Linked DNA regions of Homo sapiens: region 1 is linked to region 2. Evidence: promoter capture Hi-C in human tissues and cell types (Jung and others, 2019). All regions are on one chromosome and are shown on one strand. The core of a region is centred on a gene start or on the middle of the fragment in contact, and the rest is flanking DNA. Distances in the headings are between cores, read along the strand shown.

Region 1 (6,110 bases), core at 2,470-4,969, 51 kb before region 2:
ATGCCACAGCATAGATCTGATTGTAGAAAATTATTATATGGAGAACTGAAAAATCTCCTAATCAAGACAAAAATTTTAAATAGAGGAAAAAAATACTATCTATCATTAGTTCAAGTTTCCATTAAGAGTAGAGTGTGAAGTAGCTCCAAGTTCAGAGCTGGAGAATTTTGCATCTCTCCCTCTTACCAGCCAATTGACTTTAGGTAAAGAATACTAGAGTTTTTTAGTTAGTAAAATATAGTTAATAATTCTGTATAAAGGAGCAAAAGTAAGTTTCTCATTGTTTCCTATCTCCCTTCATAGGTTTGACATGTTGAAATTGTGAAATTATTTAATGTTAATAGTTTTTAACTTCTTTAATTATGTAAAATAATTAATTTTTAAATTATTTTAACAGTTAAAACACAAAGCATACTTTTCATGGAACCAAGTGTTCCAAACACAAAAAGGTCATTCTCTGATGGCTCCTGATAACATACAACATAAAATATAGTTATAACAAATATAATTTAGAATTTATATTTCAGAATCCATCCTGGTGTAAAGCTATTTACTATAACCTTACTAAAAATACCAACGGTAAGGATGTTGGATCTTTTAAAGGTAAAACATCAGAGAAAAGAGAAAAAGACCTGTTTGTCCAATTCTCTGTGCTTTCCATGCTCTAGCACCATCCCAAAGTTGCCTCCTAACTTCTGTTCCCTCCCTGGGAAGGGAAGTCCAGGCAAATCTGTGATCAGTTAATAACTTTTAACAATTGTTTGCCATTACATCTGAAAGTGAACAGTTAATCACTTATTGTTATATCTCAAAGGTAAATTTCACTATCTAAATGCCTAGAGGTAACTGGAAGATGAAAGATACATAAAGGTTTGATGAATAGAGGGGAAAAAATGGGGGGGAGGGTTGTTTCTGTTTTTCCAATGAAAAGGTTTGCTCCTTCTCTCTGCAAAATCTTGGAACTGAGAAAGCCGTCTGGAGTGCAGATGGAAAGCATGCATCAAATTGATGTAACTACACAACATACTCCTGCCCTACACCAGGTTCATTCTGCCACCTCTATCCCACTCTACGAATGTCCCATTTGCCACAGCCTAACTTCTATCATAGTTCTAATTCCTCAGTGAAGATCACAAGAAAGGTACTTCCAGGTTGTTAAAAGAAACGAGAATGTTACACCAACACATTTCTGGGGTGGAAGGAGACTACTGACACTCCATATTTATTGCTTACATTACAAGAATTAAACAAAAAAAGCAGACTAGAAAATCACTTTCTGTAATTTCACAATCACCAATTTGCAACAGAAACTGAAGCATAATATTTATGCTAACAAATATGTTGGATGAATTATCACCTCAGCACATAACTGCAGATGGATACTCCTGGATTTTCACTTAATCCATTACTCAATGATGAACACTATAAAATGAAAGGTGACATACTTATGAACTAAAATCACAAGAAGAAACTCTCCAAGATCAATCTTAAATGAGCTCCTATTCCAATAAGCCATAAAGAGCAGTAAAAGGCAATATTCATTTAACAGTACAAGAATCTCGATGACAAGAAATCAGGTATTTATATTCCTCTAGAGACATTTCTTCTCCACCTAACAAAGGCACTTGACATGTACTGAAATGGACAGTTAATTCAGGTACTGCCCTGGGCAACTGTTACCTTGCTAAAATTAGATGAAGTGGTGATTAAGTTCAAATTAGTTCTCCCAAATAAGCCTGAAACACACATGAATAGATCATAAGTTCTCTATTTTTGGCAGATGATATAACCAAGAAGAAAAGCTAATGTTGGTATCCATGCTGAACTGGCTGACTTAAGCAGTCAAGGATACTCTCTCTGCACAATATATTCCTTGATGACTATGGAATGTATATATAATTATAGGCAAATTAACCTTTCCTATAGTTTCAGGTATTAATGTTCATTCCTCTTCTTGTCTTTTCTTACTTTTTTGTTCTTTCCCAAAGCCTTAGATGACTCCTCCTGAAAAAGACACAAATCAGTGCAGCATCTCTCCATTTACATAAAGATGAAATCTTCAATCTAATCACTTAGAATATATTTACACATATATATTCCACATATATTCATACATATATGTATGTATGTATATATGTTACAGTGAGGGTATAATCACTTTTATATGTGTCATTTCTGTGTTTTAAAGGGTACTTTCACTTATAGGCTAATATTTTTTAAACAATCAAGAATAATCAAGGAAACCTTATTTATCTAGTGGATTTATGTTTGAATAATTTCAAAATTATTTCATCTATTGCCCCACTTTCCCAAGGCAGTAAAATTTAAATAAGGCAGATATGAACATACCTAAAATATAAAACAAAATAAACTCAAAGTATAAAGGAAGAAAGCATCTAAAGGTATGCCAGTGAAGGGGGAGATGTTTTGACACTAACAGAGAATTTCAGAATTTTCTAGATGTTTAAAGAACATCTAGTCTGATGTGATATCAGCTACAACCACTCTGGGGCTCAATTTTAGGGATGGAACCTAGTTGGTCTTAAAAGGTTTTTCTAATTATAAAATTCTATGAACCTATGAAATCAAGGTGCGAAGGGATGAAGTGGTCTGTCCTATGAAATCAAGGTGCGAAGGGATTAAGTGATCGGTCCAAAGTCACGTGACTGGCCAGACACACTGTTTAGAGTCTAGGTCTCCAGGTTCTGAGTCCAAAGGTTTTACCAATTCACCACTCACATTCTGATTCATTCTTAATTTTCTGTCTTTTTAAAAAATTCCCAGGCAGTGATGAGAAATTCTCTAGATGTAGTACGAAGAGCCACTTACAGGTGAATTTGTGTAGTTCTTTTCCACTAGTATGTTTCTGGCACAGTTGTTGATATGTTTAAAGCGATCTGGTCCTAGCAGAATCCCTCCATACCAGCGTGATACTACCACCATGACATTCTTCACATTCAAAATCTGTTATTTTTTGGAAGCATAATTAGATACATAGACAGACATGTATAAATATGAGTTTTAAAAAAGGAGAATGAAATAACCCATGTATAAAATTGCACATAAAATTTCCCAGTGACTTTAATGGTAGAGCCATATGAGTGAGTAGGCACTGAGTGAGATTACTAACAATTCAGGGAGTGAAATGGAAGAACAGAAGGGAATCTGGAAAACCATCACTGTGTTTCACAATGTCCTCAAACTCCCAGATTTGGGGCAACTGGACAGAGTGAAGGGGAGACCATGCAAGTAGGATTCTAGCACCTGGTGACTTCAACCAGAACAGCTAAGTTTAGGCAGCATTTTACCACTAGGCCAAATAACAACAAAAAAAACCCTGCTTCTGAACAAAGCTACAGGGGCTGCACGAGGCATCAATATCCCTGGTGCTATTAGTAAGGTTTCATCAGTTGAGATCTAGATCAGTCTCACTCTGTCACCCAGGCTACAGTGCAGTGGCACAATCTTGGCTCACTGCAACCTCTGCCTCCTGGGCTCAAGTGATCCTCCCACCCCAGCCTCCCAAGTAGCTGGGACCTACAGGTGCATGCACCACCATGCCCAGCTAATTTTTGTGTTTTTTTAGTAGAGACAGGGTTTCACCATGTTGCCCAGGCTGGTTTCGAACTCCTGGGCTCAAGTGATCTCCCCGCCTCAGCTTCCCAAAGTGCTAGGGTTACAGGTGTGAGCCACCATACCTGGCCGTCTTCATCAGTTTGACATTTGTCAAATGCTGCCCTTAATGTGAAGCCCACCAGTTTACAGGCCTGACCCACAAACACAGTTACTATTCAAGGGAAAGGCCTTGTTAGAAAATAAACCTTCACATACAAGAGCAGAAAAAACCAGGTAACTACCTTAGGAAAAAAATAATCCAATCCTAAAATTAATGAACAATAAATGATCACCAGACAGATGAAGAAAATCCAGCAGCATGAAAGAGAAAGGACAAGATAAACAAACAAAAATGGACCAGGAAAAATTTTTTTAGGGGTGAGAACATCTTAAAAAAGAAACTCTAATTAATATAATCAGAGAAATTTTAGAAGATATTGGAGCCATAAAACAGAACAGGATATTCTTAAAAAGGAAAAACAGAAAACAAGAAAGAACTCTTAAAAATTAAATATATGGCTGCTAAACAAAATTTCAAATTCAACAGAAATTTTGGACAACAGTCAAGAAAATGTCTCAGAATATAAAGACAATGAGATGGACAACTCAATTTAAAAAAAAAAAATTCTGGATCTATCCAGAAGTTCCAATATCCAACTAACCGGAGTTCCATAAAGAAAGAATAGAAAAAATAAAGAGAAGGAAATTGTCAAAAAAACAAAGTGTTTTCCCAAAGTTGAAGACAATCTTCTATTGTCTATGTCTTGAAAGCATAGCACTTCTTATTAATTATTTGCTTTCTGTCCCACATCCACTGGTTAAAATTTTCATTCAATCAATATTTTAACATCAACTACTAATTAAATCAAATATATCTTATGTTACATAGTTCAACTGACTTAGCTATTACTAAATGGAGCTCTGTTTTGTTGAGAAATTTTATGGCTTGTACAGAACAGGATTGATAGTTTAACTTACACCTACCTCCATGAGATGAAGAAGACGCCCACCAGCTGCTGTTTCCCCATCATCCTCACAATCCTGTAAGAAGGTCTGTTTATCCTCACAATATATTCTGCAAATACATGTAAGAGTATTACACTTTGAAACTAAAATATTATAATAAAACTTATTCCTCAACATTTGTGATCATTTTGATTACTTCCAAAATCAGCATATTCATTTTTTTAAATCCTTCCTGAAATATGTATTATATTAGATATATTTTCACTGACGGTTTACTATCCAGTATGTTTGCCTTTTTATATACTTGGGAAAGCTAGGAATCAAAGGCATCTCCTTTATATCAGAAATGTTGCTATTATGGGAAGGTGAATTTATCCATGTGACATTCCCCTTACTTCATTTAACCTTGAAGTAACAAGAGCAATCATTGAAAAACATTTATTGAGAATATACTGTATAAAAGCAACAGGTACTAAGACATATTATAAAGGAAGTAAGTGGCATGCATCTGTCTTCAAAGAGCCTTAAGATGTAGTGAAACAAAAAGCATATAAAAAAAAGATGAAGGCAACAAAACCAACATAAGGTAATATTTTATACTTTCCTCTCATCTTATTCCAGCCATCAAGCATTTCTCTATTTTCTTCTAAGAATGTAAAGATTTAAATTTTCCTCTGGATGGTTACTAATATTAGAGACAAATCGTGGTATTTTTATCCATTTAAACTAGAAAGCTATATCTGAAATAATAATGTAGGCCTACAATACAGTAAAATAAGCTTGGCAAATAAGTGCTAGAGAGAGAAAAAAAAAATAGTGTCAGTTACAGTATGCCATCTGGTGGATTTCTTAGGGCCCTACCAATGGTATCATGTGGAACTGGGTAAATGTAGTAAAGACATCCTCCCAGCTCTGGCCATAAAAAGCTGTAAACTTTTAATGTAAATACTAAAAGCTATAAAAGCTCATCTACACACCTAAGTCAGTTATGTTACCTTACAGCAGTCACATTCATTCATTCACTCATCCTTCCTTCCCTTCATCCATCCATCCACTCAATAAATATTTACTGACCATCTACTATGAACATTAAAGTTAAAATACTATGAGTACTTTTTTCTTTTTTTACATAGCTTAGATACAAGATTGTTGAAGCTGTAGCCACAGCCATAGAGGAGTGAAATAAAGAAAACAAATGAAATTGGATTATCAAATTCAGCTCCATCACTTAACTATGGGATCTTGAAAAAGCTAACCTTTTTACAGTGCTAGAATTGCTAACTAATAAGAGTTAATTTACATAAAGTTTTGGCACAGAGTAGGCACTCAAAAAACATGTAGAATAAATGAACATTACAATTTTTACAGCCCATTTTAATGACTGAGAGTAGTCTAATTCCTCATTTTCCTATTGAAGGCCATAACTGCTTAAGAAAACATTAAAATTCTATCCAGTGATACTCTATTAAGAGGGGAATTACATAACAAATAATTGTTTGTAAGTTTTGGCACTTAAAGAGATGTGAAAT
Region 2 (5,765 bases), core at 3,266-5,765:
TATAGAGATTTCCTGTTGGGCAAAGCACATATACCAGGCCTTTGGTAAGCCTAATAGAAAGGTGCCATTTAGGAGGCCCTGCTCTTGCTCCTTCAGCTGAGCCAAGAATTGTAGGTTGCATAATGAAGTCCTCAAAAAGGGGCAATAGGCAGGGCAGACTTTCCAAGGCTTCCTAGAAGGGGTCATGTGACTGTCAGGCACACTGCTTGAGCAGACAATTAGGGATAGAAAAGCGGAATATATTCTTTTTTGTTTGTTTGTTTGTTTGTTTTTTGAGGCAGGGTCTCTGTCTCCCAGGCTGAAGTGCAGTGATGTGATCTCAGTTCACTGCAGCCTCCACCTGCCAGGTTCAAGTGATCCTCCCACCTCAGCCTCCTCAGTAGCTGGGACTACAGGCCACACCACCATGCCTGGCTAATTTTTGTTTTGTAGAGACAGAGTTTCTCCATGTTGACCAGGCTAAGCAGGGTATATTCATGATGAATAAAGAAAGGCCAGGTGAGGTGGTTCATGCCTGTAATCCCAGCACTTTGGGAGGCCAAGGTGGGCAGATTGCTCAAACCAGAGTTTGAGACCACCCTGGGCAACATAGTGTGACCCTGTCTCTATAAAAAATAAACAAAAGTTAGCTGGGCATGGTGGCTCGCGCCAGTAGTCCCAGCTACTTGGGAGGCTGAGGTGGGAGAACTGCTTGAGCCTGAGAGGTTGAGGCTGCAGTGAGCCATGATCATGCCACTGTACTCTAGCCTGGGTGACAGAGCAAGACCCTCGTCTCAAAAATAAAAAAAATAAAGAAAAAAAAAAAGAAAAAGCAAGCTAAGGGCTAAAGGTTGAGTTGAAAATGTTGCCCAAGGAGAACATACCTTATGGGAAAAGCTATGAAAGACTATCTCTCAACTTTGCTTCTTCTGAAGAAAGACAAAAGGATAGGAAAATGAAAATAATTGGAACATATTCTTTCCCAGTGTTGGCACTGAGGAAAAACTATAGACTATTCCTACTACCCACATCCCCAGGAGTGCCCTAATCCGGCCTTTGCCAAGCCAGATTTCCAGCTGTTTCTTTGATGTCTGAGTGATATATTCTTTATTTGCTTAAGTTAGCCAGCACCAGTGCTTGCTGCTTACAACCAAGAAACTCTACAGAAGACATAAGGGTCTCTTCCAAACTTTTTGTGTGGGGAACCAGCAAAATCAATCACTGCTGGAAGGCAGTTGCTTAGACATCTGTGTGTCATACCTGCAGGAAAAGAGAGATGGGTACAAAATTAAGTCTAGACCAAAAGAATTTAATATCTGAAACTATACCAATTCATTCCTGTTATTAAATAAACTGAGTGAAATGGCACAAATGACAAATAACAAATTTAGACCACTTTTAAGAGAGAAAAACTCCCAATGACCTCATAGCTTTGATGGTCTGGAGTTAATAGTAACTACAAAGTCTTTCATATGTAGGTATAAGGGAATGATTCATTTCCCTCAACTCAATGGTTTATCTGCATTCGCCTGATGACATCTGACCTACTTTTCAGTATTCCAGGCAGTAATTACCCAAAGCCCTCCCCAAAGTCTCAGTCCATAAAATCCTCCTTTTAATGAGACTTAAGCCTTTAGCGTGTTCCTGCACCACTTCAAAGTCACACTGGCACCAGGGGAGTGTTTTTAAAACATGCAATGCACTAAGTGCATTCTGGGATGTCTCAGGCTTGAGACAAAACTGCAAGGACCAGACATTAGGTACTACAATCTAAAGAGGATCACATTCTGAAGGAGGTCATTGGAATGCGGGGAGGGGGATGACAGTAGAGAGATTTGGGCTCCTAAGTTTCCTGAAACAAAAGAGTCCAAGGTGAATCCAGTCTGAACCAGGCAATGAACAATTCTGATGAAGCCCATCCCAGTCTTAAGTTACCCGGTTCACTTTTCAATGTGGGTCAGGCAGGCCCGGGAATGGCAGGGCCAGGGGTTAGATACTCCCAAATCCATTTCACAACCAGTCAGAGCTTCCATTGCAATTCCTACTTATATATGTAGGGATTATATTACTAGTTACTTTAATATGCCGCATCTGCAAAGTTAAAATATCTATCTGCCTAAAGCTCAGAAAGGAATATGAAGGAAAATATTTATTAACTAGTTCCAGAGGTTCTACTTCTGCCAAATGTTTCTTAAAATAGAGTATGATATGACGGGGACAATCTAGTGATAGTTTTGTTATTCTAGAACTGCACTGCCCAATATGGTAACTGCTATCCACATGTGGCTATTTAAATTAAATAAAACTTGAAACCGTCAGTCACACTGGCCACATTTCAAGTACTCAATAGCCACATGTGGCTAGTGGCTACTGTACTGGACAAGGTAGAATTATAGAACATTTCTATCATCGCAGAAAGTTCCATTAGACACAGTGTTCTAGAATAATGAATTCTGTTATGCCATCATGGTGATTTTACCTGTACTAGCCGTCAATAATATAAATGCCCATGAGATATCTTTTCTGCATATTTTATGGAAATACCAAATAAAGTCCTTTAAAGATACAGTATAAATAGTAATGCTATCAAGATTGGAACTTCTCTTATTGATAACTGTAGTGATTACTACTTCATCCTCCTATTGACTGCAATCTGTTTTTCATTTGCAAACTGTAGAAGGGAGTTGCAAAGTGCAAGTTGTGAATTTAGGTAATTAAATCATCACAGAGAGAATGAAGGCTTTCATGGAATCATGGAAAATTATTTCAGTAGCCAATTATTATTGTCATTATTTCGGTAGTTTTATTTTGGCTATGAAGATGGTTCAAGGCTGGGTGTGGTGGCTCACACCTATAATCCCAGCACCTTGGGAGGCTGAAGTGGGTGGATCACCTGAGATCAGGAGTTTGAGATCAGACTGACAAACATAGTGAAACCCTATCTCTACTAAAAATACAAAAGTTAGCCGGGTATGGTGGCACGCACCTATAGTCCCAGCTACTTAGGAGGCTGAGGCAGGAGAATCGCTTGAACCTCGGAGGCAGAGGTTGCAGTGAGCTGAGATTGCACCACTGCACAAGAGTAAAACTCCATCTCAAAAAAAAAAAAAAAGATGGTTCAATATCCTTAGATAGTAAGCCCTGAGGTTTCTTCTTTTCCAGACAAATACAGCTGCTTTAGTTACCACACATTTTGCAGTTGAAGTATTGTGCTAGTAAAGTGCCTGCTTTGTTAATAAAAGATGATGCCAGCCTGAGATACACCAGCAGGATTGCTTGTGGTATCCAAAAACATCATTTCAAAAGATCTGCCATATGCTGTTTCACACATATCACAATGACCAAAAGGGCCTATTATAGGTTCTCAATACATGCTTCTAGACTTGATGGAAAAACTACAGTCCTTTTAAAAATGATACCTATTTATTACTTTTTCATTGCAAAAGAACATGTTCATTAAATACATTTAGAAAATTCAGGAAAGCAGAAATCAGTTTTCGTATGCTCGTAATTTCCTGTCTTTTTAGTTATGCAGAAATGCTTTTAAAAAGCAAAGCTGTGGCCTGCAGGGGTGACTCACGCCTGTAATCCCAACACTTTGGGAGGCCCAGGAGTTGGAGACCAGCCTGGGCAACATAGGGAGAGTCTGTCTCTACTAAAAATACAAAACTTGTCCGGGCGCGGCAGGGCGCGCCTGTAGTCCCAGTCCCTTGATTACCCGCCTGTAGTCCAGCTGAGGCCGGAGGATCGCTTGAACCCAGAAGACGATGCTGCAGTGAGCCGAGATCGCGCCACTACACTCCAGCTTGGGAGACAGAGTGAGACCTTGCCTCAAAAAAAGAAAAAAACAAAAACGGTGGAATTATACTAGAGTTTGAACCTTCACGTTATAGACTATTTGCTAACTCCTCTAGCTAGACGCCTTGTGCATGGAATCTGGAGGAGAGGAGGTGAGGAAATTTTGTAAATCCTTGTCTCACGCATATCTATTCTATAATGGTTACACCTGTATGGCATTTTAAGCGCTTCCTTTCACAGGTGAAAGTAAAAGGAGGTGTTTTTTTGTAAATTGTCTAATTTACATTGCCAATTAAGTTCCCACGGGTCGAGTTGCAGCCAAAGCAAAAAAGAAAAAAATCTGGGCAGCTGGATAACCTATTGCTTAATGACAGACTTCAGACTATTAACCCAGGACTTATATTTTGCCTGGGGACGCGAGTCTTCCACTGGCTCACACGGGCGGTTCCTTGTAGTCTCCGGGTAAGGCCTGCCACTTCTTCCCTCGGGGTGTGGTGGGAGGAGCGCGAAGGCTTTACGCGTCCCTAGTAGCTGGCAAAACCTGGAACCAGCGCCGGTGGCCCAGGCGGGACAGGAGCGGGCCGGGGGCGTGGGCAGGCCAGGCAGGGGCGGGGAGTGGGCGGGGAACGGGCGTGTCCCCGCTGCGGTCACGTGTCGGGAGGGATGCCAGCTCGCCAGGAGGATGCGCGTTCCAGGGGCGGGCTGCGGGGAGGGGCGGCGCCACCTCGCGCTCCGCCGTGGTCCCGGCGCCGGGTCCCGGAGACAGACGTTACGCGGGCTCGAGCGTCCTCGGGGAGTGCCAGCCAGAGTTGGTGACGACCACTTCCTCGACGTGGGGCGGGCGGACGGGAAGCCTGGGGTCGTGGCCACCGCCTCGGGAGCTCTGGGAGCCCGGGTGACCGCGTAGGTCAGTTTCTCGCGGCTGTCCACGCCTGGAGTTCGAGGCCGGTTCCCGCGCTGACGGGTTCCCGCCGGGCTGCGCTCGGGAGGTCTGTCCGCGCCTGGTTGGGGGTGGGCGCTCCCGTCCCGGGCGTCTCAGAGGATGGTCGGGTCGTGGCGCGGCGACGCAGGGCTGCAGCCGAGCTCGGCTTCCCGGCGGCCGCTGGCTGCTCCAGCGCTGCAGGAAGTTAGGCGTTAAAAGTAACAAGATGTTGGCGTTTGTTGCACTTCCCACTCGGGTGCCACGACCATGCTGGTGCCGCATGCATCCCCTACCAGATCTTCAGCTGCGTGCCTTCTCGGTACTTTCGTGTGTCCATGTGACTTTTTAATTTCCTCCTAACAAGAGGAGGATTGATGCACAATGGAAGTCACGCATTGTTCATGTGACCGTTTCCCAATGTACCGCGTGGTCGGTTCTACAAGCATGAACGAATATCCAAGGGAGATTCTGAAACTGAATGAGAGCGCAGCTGCACAATAGACTTTAACAATTCACTTATCCCGCTGCCCTAATGATTGGCAGGAGGCATTGAAAAGGGTTATTCTGATTTAGTATTAGTTTTCAGTTCAAGTTGTCGTTTTTAGGCAGACGGTATTGTGAAATGGAACTGTGGGCAGTGTGATATTCTTAGCTTAAATAAGGTTGCTTGAATGTTGCAAATGTGGCTATTAGGTGTCTGTGAATAGTTAATAATATAATTAAATCAGCTTTAAAATCGGTGATGTGTTTTCCCTGAAAACTTCAGTCTTTGCCCTGTAATAGGTGCATTCTGGATTTGGAGTTTGGAACCTCCTCACCTCTTTACTCAGCATCTGGGAAATAATTTGCAGATTCGTTTTGAGGGGTAGAAGTATTTGCAGTCTAACCCCGATACAATGAATTTTTTGCAGCAGTTTGATAGGTATAAATTCTGAACCACCCCCCTCCCTCCCCACCCCAAGCTGGAATTGTGAAGATTTCTTAATTACAGCATAGTAACAAAATCCACCTTTTAATTCCCTAATTCTAAACCACTAGGTGGGCTTTGTCTACAGTTTATAGGGGG

The links. Contacts are between HindIII fragments. The study calls those that stand out against the background at their distance.
Region 1: a fragment that was not itself captured here is called in contact with the fragment with the promoter of OSBPL1A in region 2 in 1 of the 25 tissues and cell types used here (spleen).

The regions. Positions count from the first base shown.
Region 1 is chr18:24,446,673-24,452,782 of GRCh38, reverse strand. It overlaps IMPACT (impact RWD domain protein), which reads right to left. Exons shown (of 11, transcript NM_018439.4): 9 at 4,600-4,690; 10 at 2,830-2,964; 11 at 1-2,004. The coding sequence ends at 1,936. Among named protein-coding and RNA genes, the nearest start is that of HRH4, 11 kb to the left of the region's middle. The HindIII fragment of the contact is 7,986 bases long and covers 1-6,110 here.
Region 2 is chr18:24,396,574-24,402,338 of GRCh38, reverse strand. OSBPL1A (oxysterol binding protein like 1A) reads left to right here and starts at 4,515. Exons shown (of 28, transcript NM_080597.4): 1 at 4,515-4,684. It overlaps LOC124904268 (a long non-coding RNA gene), which reads right to left. Exons shown (of 3, transcript XR_007066314.1): 3 at 1-1,239. RefSeq lists a silencer at 4,452-4,581. The HindIII fragment of the contact is 24,691 bases long and covers 1-5,765 here.